Regions from separate parts of the Homo sapiens genome. Here regions 1 and 2 are each linked to region 3. Evidence: promoter capture Hi-C in human tissues and cell types (Jung and others, 2019). All regions are on one chromosome and are shown on one strand. The core of a region is centred on a gene start or on the middle of the fragment in contact, and the rest is flanking DNA. Distances in the headings are between cores, read along the strand shown.

Evidence for each region. Contacts are between HindIII fragments. The study calls those that stand out against the background at their distance.
Region 1: a fragment that was not itself captured here is called in contact with the fragment with the promoter of GUCY1A2 in region 3 in 2 of the 25 tissues and cell types used here (H1 embryonic stem cells and dorsolateral prefrontal cortex).
Region 2: a contact is called between a fragment that was not itself captured here and the fragment with the promoter of GUCY1A2 in region 3, in 1 of the 25 tissues and cell types used here (hippocampus).

What each region holds. Positions count from the first base shown.
Region 1 is chr11:106,466,202-106,469,588 of GRCh38, forward strand. No RefSeq gene overlaps it. Among named protein-coding and RNA genes, the nearest start is that of LINC02719, 340 kb to the left of the region's middle. The HindIII fragment of the contact is 3,583 bases long and covers 10-3,387 here.
Region 2 is chr11:106,382,544-106,385,872 of GRCh38, forward strand. All of the region lies in intron 2 of LOC105369474 (a long non-coding RNA gene), which reads left to right. Among named protein-coding and RNA genes, the nearest start is that of LINC02719, 250 kb to the left of the region's middle. The HindIII fragment of the contact is 6,435 bases long and covers 1-3,329 here.
Region 3 is chr11:107,016,957-107,020,421 of GRCh38, forward strand. GUCY1A2 (guanylate cyclase 1 soluble subunit alpha 2) reads right to left here and starts at 1,520. Exons shown (of 8, transcript NM_000855.3): 1 at 797-1,520. The coding sequence starts at 1,099. RefSeq lists a silencer at 914-1,043. The HindIII fragment of the contact is 5,267 bases long and covers 1-3,388 here.

The DNA of each region.
Region 1 (3,387 bases), core at 551-3,050, 550 kb before region 3:
AGGGTTCTGAAGATATTTCAAAAAGGCTTAGGGTAGATGAAGCAAGGCTGAGGGGGAAGATGAAATACCTGTGGCCCCAAACTTTGCCTGTATAATTCAATCATCAGGTTTTGGTGTACTTTAAAGCAATGCACAAGCAGAATATACAACTGTTCATGAAAAACAATATTATAGAAATGATAGTCACAGTGATGTGTGGAATGTTTATTGCATGCCAGCCTCTGTTCCAAGTACTGTAGAAATGCTGTTTAATTTTCACAACAGCATTCTGAGGTAGGTAGCCTAAGTATTCCCATTTTATGTGTATGGAAACAGTCACAGATGATTAATTTAGCCACAGAGAGTAATTTACTCAAGGTCACCCAGCTAGTTGCAGGGTCTGGGCTCTGACAGGTGAATGGGCTAAATAAGACTCAAAGGCACTTAGTAGTTATTCCGAGTCATGAAATGAGCAAGGAAGTAGCAGAGCTAAGACTTCCAGTCAGCTGCTTTGTCTTCAGATGTTCCCTTTTGAGTTCCTCACAGGCTGCCATGAGTTAGACAAATGGCACTAACACACCGAGTGTGTCTCTATTACTCTTGAAAAGAAACAGCCTTTCATAAGCAAGAAAGTTAAAACAGCAGTGATGGTCAGCTAAAGATGGCCTCCTTCAATTCTATTTTTGTTCACAACTTTTCTTCCTCACTTCTGAAACCCCTCAGAAAAAAACTCTTCTGCTCATGCTTAGTGTTTATTTTACGTGATTGATCTCACCACTGGAATTACGCTGTGCTATAAGGCTGCAGTAATCCTTAACCAGTGACTCACAAACCCAGCTGGTGCTTAATTTGTATTGCAATCAGCAGTGTGGGAGCACGTTTTTCTATTTTCTGAGTAAACATACGAACCCAGGATCAATATAGATTGGAGACTGTTTGCAATTAACAAAAGATGAGTTCAATGATATTATGCGGGGTGGGGGGAGGCAGGGAAGAAGAAAAGCAAGGACCCTCATTTAAAAATTCATCCAGGTGCTCTCATGTTGAAATGTCTGAATAAATTAACACAGAATTAGAAAATTGTGTATAATTAAGGTTTTTTAATGCACCTCTGTTAAGTATTAAAACACAAACATACAGAAAAAGAAGCTTTTGAGAACACATATTTGTTTTGATTAAGGATAAGACATTTGATAAAAGTTAATATATTTGCCAACACATTACAAATGAGCATGAAGATGATAGATTTTTTTGGTGTGTATCTTCCCTCCTATTTGTGTGATAAACAACTGCCATGTATTCCATATTTTCTATGGATATTGTTAAGACTTGGACTGACCTCTCAATCATATTTTACTCACTTATTTAATCTGTAAACCAAAAATAAAATTCTACACCCACCTCAACCACCTGAATGGACTTCCTCCTCAGCCAGGGCACTCTTAAAACTTAACATGAAGGACTGGTTCAGGCCATGATGGGAAGTGGGGATCAGGTATGCCTCATTATACCTCTCCATCATTAACATCAACACATACTTTAGGTCTGATAAGAAACTTTTTACAGCCTATTTTCTCTGAAGCCTACTACCTGAAGGCTTCCTCTGCAAATAAGAACTTTGGTCTCCACAATCCTTTATCTTAACCCAGGCATTCCTTTCTATTAATTCCAGGTCTTTAGATAAACTCAACCAATTGTCAACTAGAAAAATTGTAAATCTGTCTATAAGCTGGAAGCCCCCACTTCAAGTTGTCCCACCTTTCTGGACCAAACCAACGTATTTCTTAAATGTATTTAATTGAAGTTTTATATCTCTCTAAACTGCATAAAACCAAGCTGTACCCCAACCACCTTGGGCACATGTTCTCAGGACCTTCTGAGGGCTGTGCCATGGGGCATGGTCACTCATTGTTGGCTCAAAATAAATCTCTTCCAGTATTTTACAGAGTTTGACTCTTTTCATTAACACTTCTATTCACTCATTCAAAAATATTTATTTCTGGCCTGCTTATGCTCAAAACTGGAGATAAGGCAGTCAGTATAACAAAATATGGTCCTGTTTGTTGAAGATCTTAGGGTCTGGAGAGGCAGTGAGTCACCAAACAATCATGTGAATGCAATGTTGATAAATGCTGTGAAGGAGGCATAAATGGTGTTCCAGCTACAAAAATAGCTGGCTCTGACTCCCGAACTAGAATTATTTCTCTGATGTGTTTGCAGAGGTGATATGAAATGCTGTTAACTATGGGTGAAAGTTAAAGAATAGTCAATGCGTTCATCTAGAAATATTTTTCTCTTGCCGCATTTAGCTTTGGGTTAATTGTTTGGTAGAACTTATTTTGTGGCTGCCTGAAAATATGAAATCTTCTAGCTCAGCGGTCTTACACACTGCTCATTCACAACTATTTATACTATCATCAAGTGGTTAATGTGCACTAAACCAACTAAAGGACTAATTTAAAAGTTTCTTTTTCTGCTTTTTTTTTTTTTCCTGGGAACCCAGTGGCATCCTAGGGATTTGTCAGAACACTGTCAACAGAGGAAGACTCAGGAAAAGAATGAAAAGTCCAGCTGCTCCCAGCCCTTTCCAGCCTCCATTCATTATGCTTAAGTCTGTTCCTACATAGTGGGCTGTTTCATTGGGGCTGCATGGTGTTTGTCCCTGACTGGAGTGGAAGTTTCAGAAGAGTGAGCTCTTGGAGAACTGAGAGTTAAGTTAGCCTCTTTACAAACTAAATGGATGTTTTTTCATTGGAAACGAGTTCTTTTCTACACAACTTATATCTAGAAAGTCAGTTAGCCAGTAAATATATGAGATTCAAAAAAGGTCTGAAGGAAATACGAATGGTAGGGAGAAAGGAAGGCAGGCAGAGAAGTCAAGATTTTGAAAATCAGTAAAAACTATTATGAGCAAAAACATTTCTTTTTGACCAGCTAACCGTTCTGTCAAACTAAGTTCTAGCCAGATAATCATAGCTACTGCATAATAATGGAATTTTTTTTTATTGTGCTGTGACATGCCTGAAATAAATTTCATTAGAACTGGTTATTGATATGAGACTTAAGTAGCAGAGGAAGCTTGCTGTAATCAGCCAATGTTTTAGTATTTTTCTCAGTATTTTAGAGCATTAGTATTCTTTATCAATATAAATATTTAAAACCTATGAATTGAAAAAATAAGCAAAAAGAAATGGAAGTTAACGATGATATTTCTATTTGATAGTCTGTAATGTTAAGAGGAACTAAGTATAGAAGATAAGACTTCTAGAGTTTCCTAAATCTCTAAATGTTTCACACTGAATTTTATCTAAATAGTTACTACATGCCCTTTAAGAGAAACTGATAAATGATTCACACTAAGGGGAAAAAAATCAGGAAATATTCAGACTTTAGTTTCTGGCAGAGTAG
Region 2 (3,329 bases), core at 474-2,973, 630 kb before region 3:
TTCTCTGGATTACCACCATGTCCACATTCTGGACCAGGGAAGGGCAAAAGAGTGAGGAAGTCCAAGGCAAGCAACTTTATTTTAAAAAGCGGTGCAGAAATTGCACTATTCACTTAGGAGATGTGCCATCTAGGTACATAGGATTGTCCTCTTTAATCTGTCAATGTAGTTAAATTAATTAATATACTTTCTAGTGTAGAATCAATCTTGCATTCCTATGATGAGCTCAAATTAATCATGACGCATCATTTTTTATATAGTTCTAAATTTAGCTTGCTAATATTTTGTTAGAACTCTTGCATTTATGTACATGAGTGAGTGGTCTATACTTTTCTGTTTCCATTTTGCCTGTAGCTAATTTTGGTATTAAGTTACACCCGTATCATAAAATGTGCAGTAGAATATTTCCCTTTTCTTATCTCAGAAAAGATTTGTGTAAGTGGGATTTTTTTTTCTTTAAAATTTGGTACAACTCAGTGGTAAATCCTTTTGGGTAGTTTTTAAATGACTTATTTTCTTTAATGTTATAACAATTTGTGTTTTTCTATTTAATATTGAGTCAGTTTTGGAAATTTGTATTTTTCTAAGAATATGTCCATTTTACGTGTTCTCAAATTAATGGCATAGAGACATAGTATTAACTTATTTTTTAAAATCTCTATTATACTCTTAAAATTTTTAGTATTGTTTATATATGCCATTTCTGTCTCTTTTCCCCTTTCTCTTTCATAATCTGTTTTGCCTAAGGTTTGTCAGTTTTATTAATGTTTTCAACACATAAGCTTTGCTTTTCTTGATCCTCTTTATTTTGCCATAGTTCCTCTTTTCCCATTAATTATTGCCCTTCTCATCTTTATTTTATTTTTTTCTATTTTTTGGTTGACATTTTTCTAACTTCTCAAGTTGTATGCTTATTTACTGACATTCACGTTTCCTCCTATTCTAATAAAAACATATAAAGGTTACAGATTTCCTTTAATGTTGATTTAGCTACAGTTCAAAAGTTTTGATATAAAGCTTTTTATTATCTTTCAGTTCTAAGTATTTTATAATTTCTTTTGTGATTTTTCTCTTGGCCTTTGAGTCATTCGGTTGTGTTTGGAATTTCCAAATTATGAAGTTTGAAAATATTTTTTCTTGTTATTAATGTATACCTCAGTTAGACTAAAAGTAGATTTTGGGGTGCATGACACTAGATTTTTGAAATCTTTGCAGATTGGTTTTGGCCCAAAGTTTCACTTTCTCATTTCTTGATTTTTTTTTAATGTTTCTGTTTCTTTTGGAAATGTTTATCTTGAGAAATAAGAGCATCACTTAAAACTCCTGAGAAACATTTAAGTGCCTGAGCTGTGCAAATAATCTCCCCCAGTATTAAATATTGTGTCTCCCTTCTTTCTTCTTCATGACTCCGCAGTAGCTAGCTAGCTGTGACACACTGAGATTTAAGCAATGCTCTTTTATCATCTTGTCACGACAATATGCTGAAGCACAGCCCCTCTAATACATCTTATCACCTGATTGATTTCCACTCACGTACTTTAGGGCAGCTATTCCTGTCTATGCTGCTCAATCTTTGGTCACCCCTATAAAATTTAAATCCTTCTGATATTGTTTCTTTCTCTCCCATCCTAATCTGATTCCCCTACCAATTCTTACCACGATGCCCTTTTGAATCTCAGGATTCTCTTTAAACCTAAATGGTAAACCTTTTCAGGATCCTCTTGCTAATCTTCTCATTCATTTGAAACTGAAAAAAGAGAAGCTGGGGTCTGGCAACTAGAAGACTGCTGCTTTTCTCTTTATAGGCTTCTCCCTCTCAACTCATTCTGTTGAATGCTCCCTTGTTGAAAGAGCTGTTTAAATTGACAGTCTTCACTTCTTTACCTCCCATTCCCTTTTTAACCCATTGTAGCAGAGCTTCACTTCTTATTGTTTCTGCAGAGACACAGGGAGTATTCCTGCCTGTGACCCAAAAAACACCATCCATCCACAAATGACCAAATTGTGCAACACAGAAATGTGGTCCTCTTGTATTTGTGCCCAGTTCCTGGTTTAGTCTTCAATCTTCGGCTCCATCTCTGAAGACTGAGATAAAATCTGTCTTTTGCCAACTCACGTAGGATTTATGTGCAGTTTATTCAAACATGCTTGGTTTCCAGAGATTTCTGTGAATCAAATCTATTCTCCACAAGGCATACAGCATAATCTTTCTTAAATGTAAATCTAATTATGTCTTCCCATTACTTAAAACTTTGCAAAGGCTCCCTAAGGCTCCTAAAGTAAATTTAAAAATTCGTTAAGAATGGTTTACAAGCCCCTGAACCATCTAGTCAAGGCTTTTGTACTTAGATTCATGCTGTTTCTCCATTTCTGCTATACTACCTACAGTTCAGTTCAGGGCTTTTCTTATTATTATTTGTGCTTCTCAAAAATAACTATAGAATATGCTGGGAATGTAACCTCCTGAGACAGGGAGGGCTGGCTAGAACTGTTCAGTCCAACCTTAGAAAGAAGATATCTCTCAATGCACTATCCCAGCTATTCACATGATCAGAGGCTATTAAACCCAAAGCAGACCCCTTTCTGGTGTGATACAAGTGATATCAGCTGTGATACAAGTGGGGCATATGTCATCAAGACTTCATTTGCTCTGGGCAGCTTTTCTGAGCCTTGGGGGTCTAGCATGCAATGGATTCTAGGCTTCTATTTTCCCTTGTCTATCTGTAAGTAATAAATTTGCTTTATGTAATTTGTGTTAGGTGTTCTATCTCATCAGAATCAGACAAGTTGGTAACCAGTGACCCTGCTTTGCAATATCTATATCCATTTTAGATTATTTGAGATAGAATTTCCAGGCTTTTACATCATTGGTTTCCATATTTGATATTCTAGAATATATCCTTGTGCTTCTTTATTTTATTTATTTATTTATTTATTTTTTGAGACGGAGTCTTGCTCTGTTGCCCAGGCTGGAATGCAGTGGCGCGATTTTGGCTCACTGCAAGCTCCGCCTCCCGGGTTCACACCATTCTCCTGCCTCAGCCTCCTGAGTAGATGGGACTACAGGTGCCTGCCACCATGCCCGGCTAATTTTTTTTTTTTGTATTTTTAGTGGAGACGGGTTTTCACCATGTTAGCCAGGATGGTCTCAATCTCCTGACCTCGTGATCCGCCCGCCTCGGCCTCCCAAAGTTCTGGGATTACAGGCGTGAGCCACCGCACCATGAGTTCTTTAAGCTGCTGTCTGAAGATTATTTCCTTTCATATTGGAATTGGAGTGTTTTAAACCTTTATTGCTTGGAGCCACGTGGAACTTCTTGTGTCACAGT
Region 3 (3,465 bases), core at 270-2,769:
AGCAAACCACCATGGCACACGTTTGGTACCTATGTAACAAATCTGCACATCCTGCACATGTAACCCGGGACTTTAAATTAAATTTAATTTAAAAAAAAAGAAATCCAGACACCAGGTTTACCCAGAGAAGAATAAATGCCTAGTGGATAAGAAAGAAAAAGAAAAAAAGCTACGGGGTGAGGACAACTCGAGATTAGAGATTACTTGAACAGAAGGCAACTCAGAAAAGTATCTGGCAAAAAGTATCTGAAGATGTGAGAAAAAGGATGCAACATAGAATGCAGATAGCCTGTGGAATTCAAAGATGTCAGAGAAGGTCACGCTAAGACCAAGAGAGTGTGGGAAATAAGGAGAGGAAGGGTTTCCTGGAAGGGGTTGGGGCTCCTTTGGGATGCTGGAGAACAGGATGAAAGACAGGGAAGCTGAACTGCAGAACACAGTGCCTGGGAAAGTTTAGGGGAAAGAAAACAGGTGGGTGTGAAGCAGCACTGGGGCTGTCCAGGGGGAACAGTGGTGAAGTAGGGTTCAAGGCTAGAGGTGGGCAGACAGGCCCCCGAATCAGGATACCCCAAAGGAGTGGAATCTTATTCCTTCCCAGTGCTGTAGTCCCCTCTTCCGCCCTAGCCTAGGGGATCCTCTGTCGCCGGAGCCACTGGAACCCTAGGCCGTGCAGGGTAAGGCCGGGCCGCCCCCCAGCGGTCGGGCTCTGCGCTCGCGCCCCGGCTCGCCCAGCGCCAACTTTACAGATCCGCGTTCTCTCCCCCGAAGGCGGTCCCCCCTTCCGCCCCCCGCTCACCGAGGGCGCCGTCAGGCGGCTGATGCTCTCGCCCAGCGAGTCCAGGTTGACCCGCCTCCGGCGCTGCACCCTCCTGGCCCCGGCAGTGGCAGCGGCGGCGGCGGCAGAAGCAGCCGGGGTCGGGGCCGGGGCGGCGGCAGCGGCAGCTGCGGCCGGGCTGGGCTCCAGCGGCCCGGGCGGGCTCCGGCTGCCATTCCAGCAGAGCCTAGACAGGGGGCACTCCCCCTCCTCCTCCGGGCTGGTCTCCAGGTAGTCGGAGCCCAGGGAGCTGAAGGACTCGGACGAAATCTTCCTTCGAGACATGCTGCCGGCGGAGCTGCAGCGGCCGAGGCGGTGGCGGCGAGGACGCGAGCGGCGGCGGAGGCGGCGGTGGCGGGACCGGCAAGCGACAACGTTAAGCGCGTCGGGGCCGCGGGGCGCTGCGGTCGCGCCCGGCGGGGCGGGAGTCCCCGGGGCCGCGGAGCCCCCCGAGCCGGCTGCTCATGGCGGGAACTTGGGGCGCCGCCGCACCTTGGGGCCCGGGCTCGGCGGCGGCGCCGGGCTGGGCTGGGGGCCGCCGCCGCCTCTGCTGCTGCTCGCGCGGCGCCGCCTCAGCGCCCGCCTCGGCGCATCGCCGTGCGCCGCGCTCCCGCTCACGGGGAGGCTCCGAGAGTGTGTGACCGCGGTCGGCGGGGCGGGGAGGGCTGCGGCCCAAGCAGAAGGGGAGGCAGAGGCAGAGGCTTCTGCCGCCTGCGCGCCTATCTCGCCCCCTTTCCCTCTCTGCTCCCGCCTCTCTCCACTTGCTGCCCTGCCTCCCTCCTTCTCCCTTTATCCCCCCGCCCCCCCCCATGCTCTCCCTCCGCGGGAATCACGTGTCGCCATCATACTCATTGGGAGTCTCTGCCTCGCCTGTCGCCACGTTTCAGGAGCAACGAGGACACTTCGTTGCTGTCCTCTGCGCGCCCTCCCTGCTCCGAGGAGGTGCGCACAGGAGCTCGGGTCGGACTGAGGGCCCCAACCCCAAACGCCTTATCCTCGGCCCTCGGGAGCAGATGGGTCCCGGCGGCGCTGGTGGGGAGAAGGGCTCGGGGCTGGGGGGCGAGAGGCCTCCCCCTGGAGCCACCTTGGGGAAACCTGACAGTGTGAAGTGGGGGTTAGGGTCCATGTTGTCCTTTCTCCGAGTTTATTTAGGAAGTTCCGAGGCAAAAGGGAAAGGCCAAGCGTCCAGCCAGCCCACTCCAGAGGAGACGCTTTCAGGGGAAGGGAAGGACAGGGGCAACATTTTGGCGCCCATCCTGCTGGAGCAGCTCCTGGGGACTTGTGTTCCCCGCCTCGTGCGAGGCCGTGTGGGCGCGGAGCGAGCCCAGAAAGGGGCGGCAGTGAGGACAGCGTCTGCTCTGACAAGACAGCACTGTTGCTGAGCCTCAGCCGGGCGGGGTGCGCGGGGCTCCCGGCTCCGCTGGCTCCTCACTAGTGCTGGACAGCTCCGCTTGCCACCTATAGCCGCCTTTGCAGGCGTTGAGAACTGGAGAACAGTTCCTCCTCAAACGACCTAGCACCTGGCCCGGGGGAAACCGGGGAATGATCCCACGTCCCTCATCCTCAGGGCTCTTTGCGCCAAATATGCGATCTGTTTGCACCTGACTGCAAATGCTGCTCAGAAAGCTAAGGGGAGTAGGGATAAATGCTTCTCGAACTGACTCGCCACAGCGCGAGCATGTCTTGCCGCGAGTTTTCAGCTGTGCGGCTTCATTCCAAAGCTTATCTCTTTGCAAACCAGTCCTTCCAGCGCCTGACCCCACTGCCCCTTGCCTTAGCCCCAGAAAACTCTCATACTGGTTCTGAGGATAGAGTAAGAGATGGGAAGAAGGGGCAAATGACAGTATCCCGAAAGGGGTTCCAGGCTGTACTTCCCCCTGCAATGAAGTGGATGAGCACCCTCCCCAGCTCACCCGATCTGCGGAGAGAAAAGTTTAGGGGCTCTGGCTTTAGTTTCCCAGTGAAACCGAAGCCAAAGCGTTTTTTTAATTAAAGAACTGGTCCTTCCAGGTGAAGGCAGATGGGTTTTTGTGGACTGTGTTTATTTAAAAAGCAAAACAAAACCAAACCACAAAACCTGTGCTGTACCCCCACCACAATTTGCTTTTAACTTCAAATCTTCCCAAGTGTTTGTTAGGGCTTAAATATAAATGCTATTTGAGGTTTCATTTGGAAAAATCCACTCAAACTGGTTCAGAGACATACCTTTTTCCCCAGATCTTAAATGGGCTTTAAAGATAGAAAAGTGTGTACTATCACTCAGACACTCCCCCTTCAAATTATATATATATATATATATATATATATATGTGTGTGTATATATATGTATATGTATATACATATACATATGAGAAAGAATATATATAATATATATTCTTATATATATGTATTCTTTCTCATCCTGAGGAAGTTTCTTTTAAAATAATAATTGTTACAATTATTATTTAAACTGTTGTGCATCTACTATTGATTTCCCCATTACTTCAATTAATTCTATGTGCATTTGTGTCCATTGAAAATTAGACTCAAATTACACTTTTAATCATAAAAAATCATCAGTTTTGCTAAAAAAGTTTCACTAGCCCCTTTTTCTAAATTATAATGAAAATTACATTATTCTAACTTTGGGGTAATTGTTTAATATTTCTGCT